Regions from separate parts of the Homo sapiens genome. Here all the other regions are linked to region 3. The links are contacts of gene promoters, found by promoter capture Hi-C in human tissues and cell types (Jung and others, 2019). All regions are on one chromosome and are shown on one strand. The core of a region is centred on a gene start or on the middle of the fragment in contact, and the rest is flanking DNA. Distances in the headings are between cores, read along the strand shown.

Region 1 (3,033 bases), core at 515-3,014, 1.5 Mb after region 3:
CAAAGCAGGGATCCCCGAGCCAGAGCAGCACCCAACCGTCAGAGAGGCAGGCCGGTGGGGGGCTGCATAAGCACCGTCCAGCCATGCCCTCCCAAGTCTGCTACAGTAGGACAGACCAGCCAACGGCGGCATTAGCGTGCAGCCAGGGACTGAAAAGCGCTGACTGGTCACATGAGGATAAACGCTTGCAGAAGCCAGTGTCTCCCTCCATCACTCACTGCAAAGATCCTCCCTGGGTTCATCAGAGGACCAAACACCAGGACCCACCAACTCCAAACCCGTAGAGAATGCATGCATCACCTCACACTGGGCTCAGATGGCCCTGTGATTATTCCCCATGTGGCTCGGCACACTATCTCACCAACCATAATTACCCTAAGGACTGAGAATGAATTTTCTTAATGGGGTGCTAGAGGCAAACCCTCTAATAACACAGCTTCTACGCCCAGTAAGTGCTCACTAAATACTTCCAGAAGAATGAATGTACATACAGAAGAGTTGTGGCTTTCCCCAAGGGCGTTTTTAAAGAGTTAAACATGCTTATGAAACCTATTTAAAATATTTATCTTAGTCATTCAGAAAGTATTTTTATTGGACACGCTCCTGGTATTTAAAACGCAGTCAACTTATTAAAAAGAAGGTGACTAACGCAATGGTATGGGTGCACGTGGCAAAGCGCTTGTGGAGAATGCAGTAAGAGCATGGTTACGCAAGTACACAGACTCACACACAGGCGTGTGCTGATCCAGAAATGAAGCAGAAGCACCAGAACTGTGCTCTCTGCAGAAACGTGCCCAGGGGGTGAAGGGCTCTCTGACTACTCACGGCAATTGGCCTCGTCCCGGCCATCCTGGCAATCTTGGTGGCCGTCACAGCGCTTCCAGTTGGGAATACACGTCTTCGGTTGGTGGCATTCGAACTCAAATCGGTCACATCGCCCAAGTTGGGTGGGAGTGGAGGCAGCAGTGACGTTTGCTAAAATAAAAGATTTTTAAAATTTACTTTTTAATATTGAGGGAGCTGGCCAATAACAGCAACCAATCAATATGCTAGGAGATTACGGTGCTTTAGAAATTACAATGGGAACCTGAAGACAAATGCGAGTTCCGGATAGAGAGCAGAGTAGATACAGACATCTAATGTTGCTTCCCCACAGGATCCCACTAAAGCCACAGTCAAGAGATTGTTTTCAAAGACCTAAATCCACGAGGACATGGATAATGAGATTTGGGAGCTGGAAAGAAGACAGATAGCGGTATGTGACTAAAGAGGCCAGCGAAGGCTGCGTCCTACCCTAAGCCGTCACAGGAGAAAGCTCAGAACCAATCAGATCAACAACACACAGTCCTCCAAAAGTTCAGAAACTGGCATCTAACTGGAAGTGAAGAAGGAGTTAAAATAAGGGAACTGACTGAATGATGTTTAAGACGCAGCTACATTCCTTATATCCCCTCCTATCAGTCCCACGAGGCAACCAACCCATACGTCACCCCAATAGAAGAATGGAGGGTTGTTATTTGGAGAAAGTAAAAACAGAGAGTTGTTTAGATAGGCGTAGTTGACAGCAAGTATATCCTACTGATAAAAGGGGGATTAAACCTACATATGGAAGTCCCAGTCCTCTTCTCCGAGGATCCTAGCAATAAGGTAATTATTGTCTAGGCAGGAGATCTAATAATCTTCTCTGGGGAAAATGACCAGCTTCAGAGACTAACCCTGAAGTAACCAAGATTCAGAGTTCCCCCATGGTTCCCAGCCATGAACCTCGAAGTTGACAAGCCCACCCATGTGCTCAGAATTACTTACCAGCACTTTAGTCCCCAGCCTTAAATACAAGCAGCAACCAAGAACTATCTGAGAAAAGGCTTTGACATGAAAGGCAGAAAGCCAAACAGAGCCCTAACCCCCAAAAAGGCCATTTGGAGGAAATAGAGGCTTTGCAAGAAGAAAACTTCAAAAACAAATATCCTTAATACGTTCAGAAAGAAAGAATATATTATTTATCCAAGAAAAAAAGAAAACAGGATACCATAAAAAGGGACAGTGGTAAAAATGGAGAAGCTCTTAAAGTTAAAACCATGACAACAAAGATGAAAAACTCAGCAAAGAGTTGAAATATAAAGTTGAGTAAATCTCCTAGAAAATTGGGGGGGTGGGGGAAGGGAATTTTCAAAACTATAAAAGATTAAACAAAAAAATAAGGAAGAAGACCAGATCAGGAGACAATATATGAATGACAAGAGTTCCAGGAAATAAGAGAAAACAGAGAGGGAAATATCATTAATAAAAACTTCAAGAAAAATTCCTTGAACTAAAATATATAAACTTCCATATCAAAAAGCATGCAAGTGTCCGCTATGTTGGATGGAAAGGGTCTCAGAGCAAAGCACATCATTGTGAAATTTTAAAACACTGGTGCCAAAGGGAAGATTCTACAAGCTTCTAGAGGATTAAAAACAGGTTACATACAAAAAAAAAAAAATCAGAATCAAAATGGCTTTTGGATTTCCGAAAAGCTGCTTGAAGGCAGTGGAACAAAACCTTCAAAACTCTGAAGGAAAATTACTTACAATCTAGCACGCCAAACCCAGCCCAACTATCAATTAAGTCTGAAGACAGAATTAAAACACTTTAAGACAAGCAAGACCTCACACAGGCCTCCCACATACATTTTCTCAGGCATTTTCCAGAAAACGTGCTCTACTGAAACATGGGATTAAACTAAAAAGAGAAAAACTGGGACACAGAAAACAGGAGTTCCAACAGGAGATGGAGGTAAAGGAAATCCTGAAGATGATGATGGTGCAACGTCCTAAAAGGCAGTTGTGCCCCAGGTATACAGGGCAACCAATACAAACCAGAGCAGCAAAATTCAAGAGACAAACACCTGAGAGCTGTCATCACAGTGTCCTTGGCCACTGCGTCATCATATTCACCTGACAAGGCTACTGAAGGATGCACTCCACCCAAACAAGGGAGTAAACCAAGAAAAAGCAACACACAAGATCCAGGAAACAAGGAATCTAAACTGGG
Region 2 (3,220 bases), core at 269-2,768, 1.7 Mb after region 3:
TCAGCCCCTCTCCCCTCCCCCGAGGTTCGGGGATGGAGCTCGAAGTCCCAACCCTCTAATCATGTCTTGGTCTTTCCTGTGACCAATCCCATCCTGAAGACACATAGGGGCTGACAGCCGTCAGTCAACTTATTAGCATACAAAAAAATCACCTTAGAGATTAGGAGTATTTAGGAGTTGTATGCCAGGAAATGGGGATGAAGACCAAATATATATTTCACAATATCACAGGGAGAAAAACTTGAATTTTACTTCATCAGTTATCCATGTCTTCCAGTTTGGAACAGCACAGTGATAAGATGGAGATAGAAATGAGGATGGAGAGAGATAAACAGGTAACTAGTCAAGCCTGCTTGTCCTAGATGTGTTTAAATGTGATTGTTGGCATAACCTCTCTGAGCCATGCTATCCTCAGGGTATACTCTTTAGGGCTTTTATTAACTCATTTGCTCAATCACTCATTTATCAAATATTTACTGTGTGCCTACTATATTAGGCACTGTGCTAAGTGCTGGGAGCTCAAAGTCAAGATGTGAGCTTTGACCCCAAATAAGCTTTTGTCCAGTGGTTGAGATTGTCATGTAAATAAGCCATCACATATACTACAATAAAGGTCTGTATAGGATATAGTGGGGCACAAAGGAGAGATTCACCAACTCTACCTGAAGAAGTCAGCATCTCTTGAGCTGGGGTCCAAAGGATGGTTATGAGTTCACCTGGCAGACAAAAAACAATGATGAGGGAAAAACAATATGGAAACAGCAAGTCAAGCTAAAGAAATGACAAGAATGTTTGCGAAGCTAGAGGATGAGATGGTGACAGTGTTTAGGAGCATGAAGAGGACAAGAGAGGTAATGATTAAAAGTGAGAATGGAGAAATAGCCACTAGAGCACAGGAGCCTAACATGTCATGATAAGGAGTTTGGACTTAATCCTGTAGGTCATGTGGAGTCACTGATGCTTCTTAAACAAGGAAATAACACTCTTGTTTGCATGTTATCTATATATATATTTTATAAATCATGATGTATTTTATGAAGTTTACTCTGTCAGGGAGACAGACTGAAGAAAGCAGGGTGAGACTAGAAGCAAGAAAACCATCTAGAGGGGTATTTGTCAATATTCCAGTTACAATTCACACACACACAAAAACCAACTTAAACTAGCTAAGCTAAATTTCTGGGGAGAGAGACACAGTCACATAATAGAGTGCAAAGGCTTCAGGCACAGCTGGATCCAGGAGCTCAAACAAGGACATCAAGTGTCTCTCCATTTCTTGACTCTGCTAGTTTTCTCTTTTCTTTATGTGTTATGTTCTCTAATACCACAGACAGATTATGTCCAATGGCAGGAAGGATGGTTGCTGGAAACCTCAAGTCTATATTTTTAATAACAAGAGCTATATAACTTTTGGTTCGGAAGTAAAAGAGACCCTCTTTTTCCCAGAATCCTTATATCAAATTTCATGGGAGCACTCTGATGGGCTCTGTGTAGAACATGTCTCCCAATGGACAAGAGTTTTGGGCACTATGATTGTCCAGGCCATGGTTATGTGGCCACTCCTGTGGACTGGGGCAGCAGGTGTATCTTGACCATCAGTTTCCTCAGGAAATGGAGGAAGGGCACTTCCCTAAAAGATAAACTGGTGCAGTTACCAAAAGAAGGAATAGCAAGTGTGTAGGACAGATACAACTAGATCTGCCAAAGTTAACTTCACTTGGGTAGAAACTAATGAAGAATTGGGCTTGAGAAGGACAACATAGATCCATTGACTTTTTTAAAAACAAATTTTAAAGAGTTAGAATGAATCAGAGTTTGCAATAGAATCGAAATAGGAAAGATAGGAGCAGAGGGCCTTTTGCAAAATCTTAGGGCTCTTACTTGGATGAATACGTTTGGGGCAGTGTATTTAATTGAAATTTAAAAAACTGGCCCAGCACCGTGGCTCATGCCTGTACTCCCAGCACTTTGGGAGGCTGAGGTGGGTGGATCACCTGAGGTCAAGAGTTCGAGACCAGCCTGGCCAACATGGCAAAACCCTGCCTCTACTAAAAATACAAAAATTAGCCTGGCATGGTGGCATGTGCCTGTAATTCCAGCTACCCTGGAGGCTGAGGCAGGAGAACTGCTTGAACCCAGGAGGCAGAGGTTACAGTGATCCAAGATTGTACCAGTGCCCTCCAGCCTGGGTGATAGAGTGAGACACTGTCTCAAAAAAAAAAAAAAAAAAAAAAAAAGCCTAGAAGGTAAGTAGGTTTGAGCCACTGGAGTGGGTAGATGCAGATGGTGAGTCCAGCTGTGAGTGCTCAAATGGCCTGCAATGTAGTGTTCGGTAAGGGTGCATAATTTGCACTGAGATTGGTCACGGGTTGGGTGAAAGGAATGGAAGGAGGGAGATGGTGGTTAAATGAGAATGAGACGTGGAGGGAAACTAGCAGCCCCTTCCTCAGGACTGACAGCTGTCTCAATCACCAATCCAGGGTCGAGTTAATTGCAGTGAGCCCCATTCGCTGTCAGTGCCAGGGTACTGATAAATATGCTTGATGAGTACATGCAAGATTGAAGGATATTCGCTTTCTTCATGTTTGTATCATATGTTCTGTGTGGAGCAATTCATATTCTGTGTGTAGGATACTTGTGTAGCTCATTTATGTTACAGTTTCTGTGCAAAGGCTACTGCTGGTTGCTAGAGCTTTAGAGGACTTGGTGTACTGAAGACCAAGAGGGCCTTTGTGGTTCGGGTTGCCTGTCAGGTGAGGAGTTGTCCTGGAGAAGGTTGTTAAGAAGCAGTAATTTCTGAAGAGCAGCTTTCTTGCCAGGCTTATTGGCAGAGAATGCAGTGATGGTGGCAGCTCCCTCGGGTTTGGGGAAAGGCTGGTTGGCAGGGCTACAAGAGGCTCCCAGCTGCTAAAACTCTCTCAACTGGCTTTATGGACTGAGAGAGAGGCAGTGGGAGCTGCCAAGGACATGACATTTCTCATGCTAATTAGGAAGGGAGGCAGCATCCACAGCTGTGTTGATTTATGTTTTGATGTTGGACATTAGGCCTTGTCTAAGTATAGGTGAGAACGAGGACCTCTGCTTTGGAATCACTCCCAGAGCTTTTGTGTCAATCTCCCCTGTCCTCATACACACACAGAGTGCCTGAGCTCAGCCTCTTTTCATGCCGCCTGTACTGGGGTCACCAGCCTCCCCCTCCTAACCCACCCTTATAACCAGA
Region 3 (3,235 bases), core at 499-2,998:
AAATGAAAGCATTTTGTATGTAGTGAAAGCATTGTATAAAATTAAATTCTTGGGACGTGGGAGAGGCTAAGAATATATCTCCATGAACTCTAAGCCAACATTCCTCCCCAAAAGGAAAATATGAAAAGGAAATTCTTCATATGTTTGAGTCTGTCTCTACCCTTTACTGGCTTTGACAAGGACAAGATGTCCTCGCTCTTCTGACAGCCTTTTTCGCAGTCTAGAGACCTTCTAATTCCAGCCCTGCTACTAAAAGTTCTTTTGGTGTAGCCTTAAAAAATCTTTTCCCCCATCGGTGCCTATTTATCTACTAAATAGGAATAACAGCTACCTCGCCTGCTTGAAAGGATACAGGGAGTGTTCAAGGTACCTGAGACAGGCTCTTGGAACCACAAGGCCCCACATATCCGCGGCCATGCACAACATTGCACAATTCAAAATTCTAGGCACCATTGTTTTGTGCACCAGCTCAGTCACGTTTTCAAAGCGTCGGTATGGTCTGTCGTTTAATTTTTGATGAAAGTCAAACCAGGAAAGATATCACCTCATGTTACTGAAAATACAAACGTTCAGAAAGTCTAAATCAAGGACGCACGGCTACTGGAACCTATGATTCCTAATGCCTGGTTCACCTAACCAAGAACACACTCGCCACCATTTAAACCTGTTTATTTTATAAACAACGGGGAAATGTAGGGCTTGGGCTAGTTGGGGAAGGACTGAGCCAAGAAGCCGAATCTGTTCTAGACGGAGGTGGGAAGGGGCCTAACGGTCAGGGCTCAGAGAAGCGGTTTCGCCTTCTTTTCCGCGGAGGGATCCAGACACGACCGCGTCCTGAGGCGGTTCTGAAAAGCCGGGCCCCTTAAACCTCTGCGTCGGGGGCTGCCTCCCGACAGTTGCCGTAGGGAAATGCAGGTGCTGGGAGGCCTGCCGAGCTAACCCGCCCCACCCCGCGGCGGCCTGGCGGCTCCCTCCAATCCCAATCCTGGGGGGCCGTGAGCGAGCAGCCCTAGTGGCACCCTGAAGCCGGAACCTTCGCCCCAGCCCCTCGGGGTCAGCCCTTGTCCAAAGCCACGCTATGAAATACAGATTCGCGAAACCCGGGGCACTTAGAGGCCCGTCTGGAACACGAAGGTGGGGCATGGAAAGGAGGATTCGGACGTGGGTGGGGGAGGGGAGCAACAACCTTCGCAGCCATTTTGTCCTCGCTCCACTTCCGTCTTCTCCTGCCCGGCTCCCGCGCCCAAACCCCTCCCTTCAGGCCCCGCGCGATTCCGCCCCCAGTTCTGTGCCGGCCAAGATCCCGGCTAGCGCCGCTATCATTGGTTAGTTCCAAGTTTGCCCGCCCCTCTTCCTCCTCCTTTTTCCGCCCCCTCCCTCCCGCGGAAGCTGGGGGCGCATGCGTAGAGGTGGACGCTCCCCTCCCCCGCCCGGGGTAACTGAGGACTCCCGCGCGCGGACTCGCTGCGCCCCACCCTCCCTTTCCCCGGGGCCGTCCGGAGAGCGGGGGCGAGCTTGAAAGTTCCAGAACGCTGCGGTGAGTGCGTTATCGTGAGGCGGAGCGCGGTGGGGTGGGTGCGGAAGGGGGCGAGGCCCGAGGAGTGGAGCCGGGCTTGTGATTGGGTCTTGTAAGGGCAGCCGGGCGTCTATTGGCCGGGGAAGCCGTAATGGCAGGCAGCAGGGGCGGGCCCCTTCTGGAAGGTTCTAAGATAGGGTATAAGAGGCAGGGTGGCGGGCGGAAACCGGTCTCATTGAACTCGCCTGCAGCTCTTGGGTTTTTTGTGGCTTCCTTCGTTATTGGAGCCAGGCCTACACCCCAGGTAAAACCTCTGCTCAAGAGTTGGGTTGTGGGTCTGGGAGCGTGCAGCCTCCACACAGGCCTGTTGGGCTTGCTGAGGCTTGGGGGTTCTGAGAATCTCGTCGAGGCGAGTGTGCGGCTCCTTCTACCGGCTTAAAGGGCCTCAGTTTTCGGTGGGATGGCAGCGGTATTTGGTTGCAGCCGGCAGGACGGAAATGTAGGGAGTGGGCCGCAGTGGCCCCAGGGGAGGCTGGGAGACGCCCGGCGGCCGCGTGGCGGGGGAGGGTTGCTGCATCGGTTTGCCTGGCGCGCGGGGAAGTGGAGCCAGCGTTTTCTTTCACCCAGTTCCCTGCTTAGTCCAGTCCCACCGTGGTTCTTCAGAGCTGTTCTTGGCGTGCTTCCAGTATGGGGGTACATTCCGGAGTAGTTAAAAGCCCGTTGACTCCCGGGGGCACTGGCACCTGGCGAGGGAGGGGAACAGACAGTGCTCAGTTCGGGGTAAGACCACGTGTTGAGCAACGCCCCACGCCGTCTGGGTAGATGGGTCCTTCATCTAGGGCGTGCTCTGCTGCGGTTGGCACGGCAACCTGGACTGCAGCACTAGTTCTGGACCTCGCGCGTGCTTAGACAGGAGGTGATGGGCACTATTACCTCTTGGCAGTGGCCATACGTTTTTCCTGGTTAAGTGTTCTGTTAAGGGATGAGGGAAATATTTTGATTAATTGAATTTTTAAACCAGATTTTTCTTTTTTTCAGCAACCATGTCCAAGGGACCTGCAGTTGGTATTGATCTTGGCACCACCTACTCTTGTGTGGGTGTTTTCCAGCACGGAAAAGTCGAGATAATTGCCAATGATCAGGGAAACCGAACCACTCCAAGCTATGTCGCCTTTACGGACACTGAACGGTTGATCGGTGATGCCGCAAAGAATCAAGTTGCAATGAACCCCACCAACACAGTTTTTGGTGAGTTCCTAATTTTAAATGACAGAACAAATATAACAGGGCTAGGAAGCACAAAAGTTTATGAAACGTGAGGAGGGAACTTTTTGATTTTAGAAAAACTGAGCTGAGAGACTTGTTATCAAGTCTGTTATAAAACAGGTTGTAGAAACCTTTCAGGCTGAAATCTGGATAACGTAGGAGGTTGAAGTTTGAACCTTTGCTACCTATATGGTAGTTGAATTCACCTACCTATGAACTGTTAGGTATTTGAGTAATCATGGACTTGAGTTTTATCAGAAGAGCTATGAAATTGAAAGTGTTTTCATTTGACACCTTTTACAGATGCCAAACGTCTGATTGGACGCAGATTTGATGATGCTGTTGTCCAGTCTGATATGAAACATTGGCCCTTTATGGTGGTGAATGATGCTGGCAGGCCCAAGGTCCAAGTAGAATACAAGGGAGAGACCAAAAGCTTCTATCCAGAGGAGG

Evidence for each region. Contacts are between HindIII fragments. The study calls those that stand out against the background at their distance.
Region 1: a contact is called between a fragment that was not itself captured here and the fragment with the promoter of HSPA8 in region 3, in 1 of the 25 tissues and cell types used here (hippocampus).
Region 2: a fragment that was not itself captured here is called in contact with the fragment with the promoter of HSPA8 in region 3 in 1 of the 25 tissues and cell types used here (dorsolateral prefrontal cortex).

The regions. Positions count from the first base shown.
Region 1 is chr11:121,593,565-121,596,597 of GRCh38, reverse strand. It overlaps SORL1 (sortilin related receptor 1), which reads right to left. Exons shown (of 48, transcript NM_003105.6): 32 at 826-975. Among named protein-coding and RNA genes, the nearest start is that of SORL1-AS1, 140 kb to the right of the region's middle. RefSeq lists an enhancer at 144-1,343. The HindIII fragment of the contact is 7,178 bases long and covers 1-3,033 here.
Region 2 is chr11:121,352,391-121,355,610 of GRCh38, reverse strand. No RefSeq gene overlaps it. Among named protein-coding and RNA genes, the nearest start is that of SC5D, 61 kb to the right of the region's middle. The HindIII fragment of the contact is 4,702 bases long and covers 1-3,220 here.
Region 3 is chr11:123,060,649-123,063,883 of GRCh38, reverse strand. It overlaps HSPA8 (heat shock protein family A (Hsp70) member 8), which reads left to right and starts at 1,748. Exons shown (of 9, transcript NM_006597.6): 1 at 1,748-1,820; 2 at 2,555-2,764; 3 at 3,086-3,235. The coding sequence starts at 2,560. LOC124902775 (a long non-coding RNA gene) reads right to left here and starts at 1,222. Exons shown (of 2, transcript XR_007062927.1): 1 at 353-1,222. RefSeq lists enhancers at 1,000-1,269, 1,830-1,999 and a silencer at 1,290-1,679. The HindIII fragment of the contact is 26,894 bases long and covers 1-3,235 here.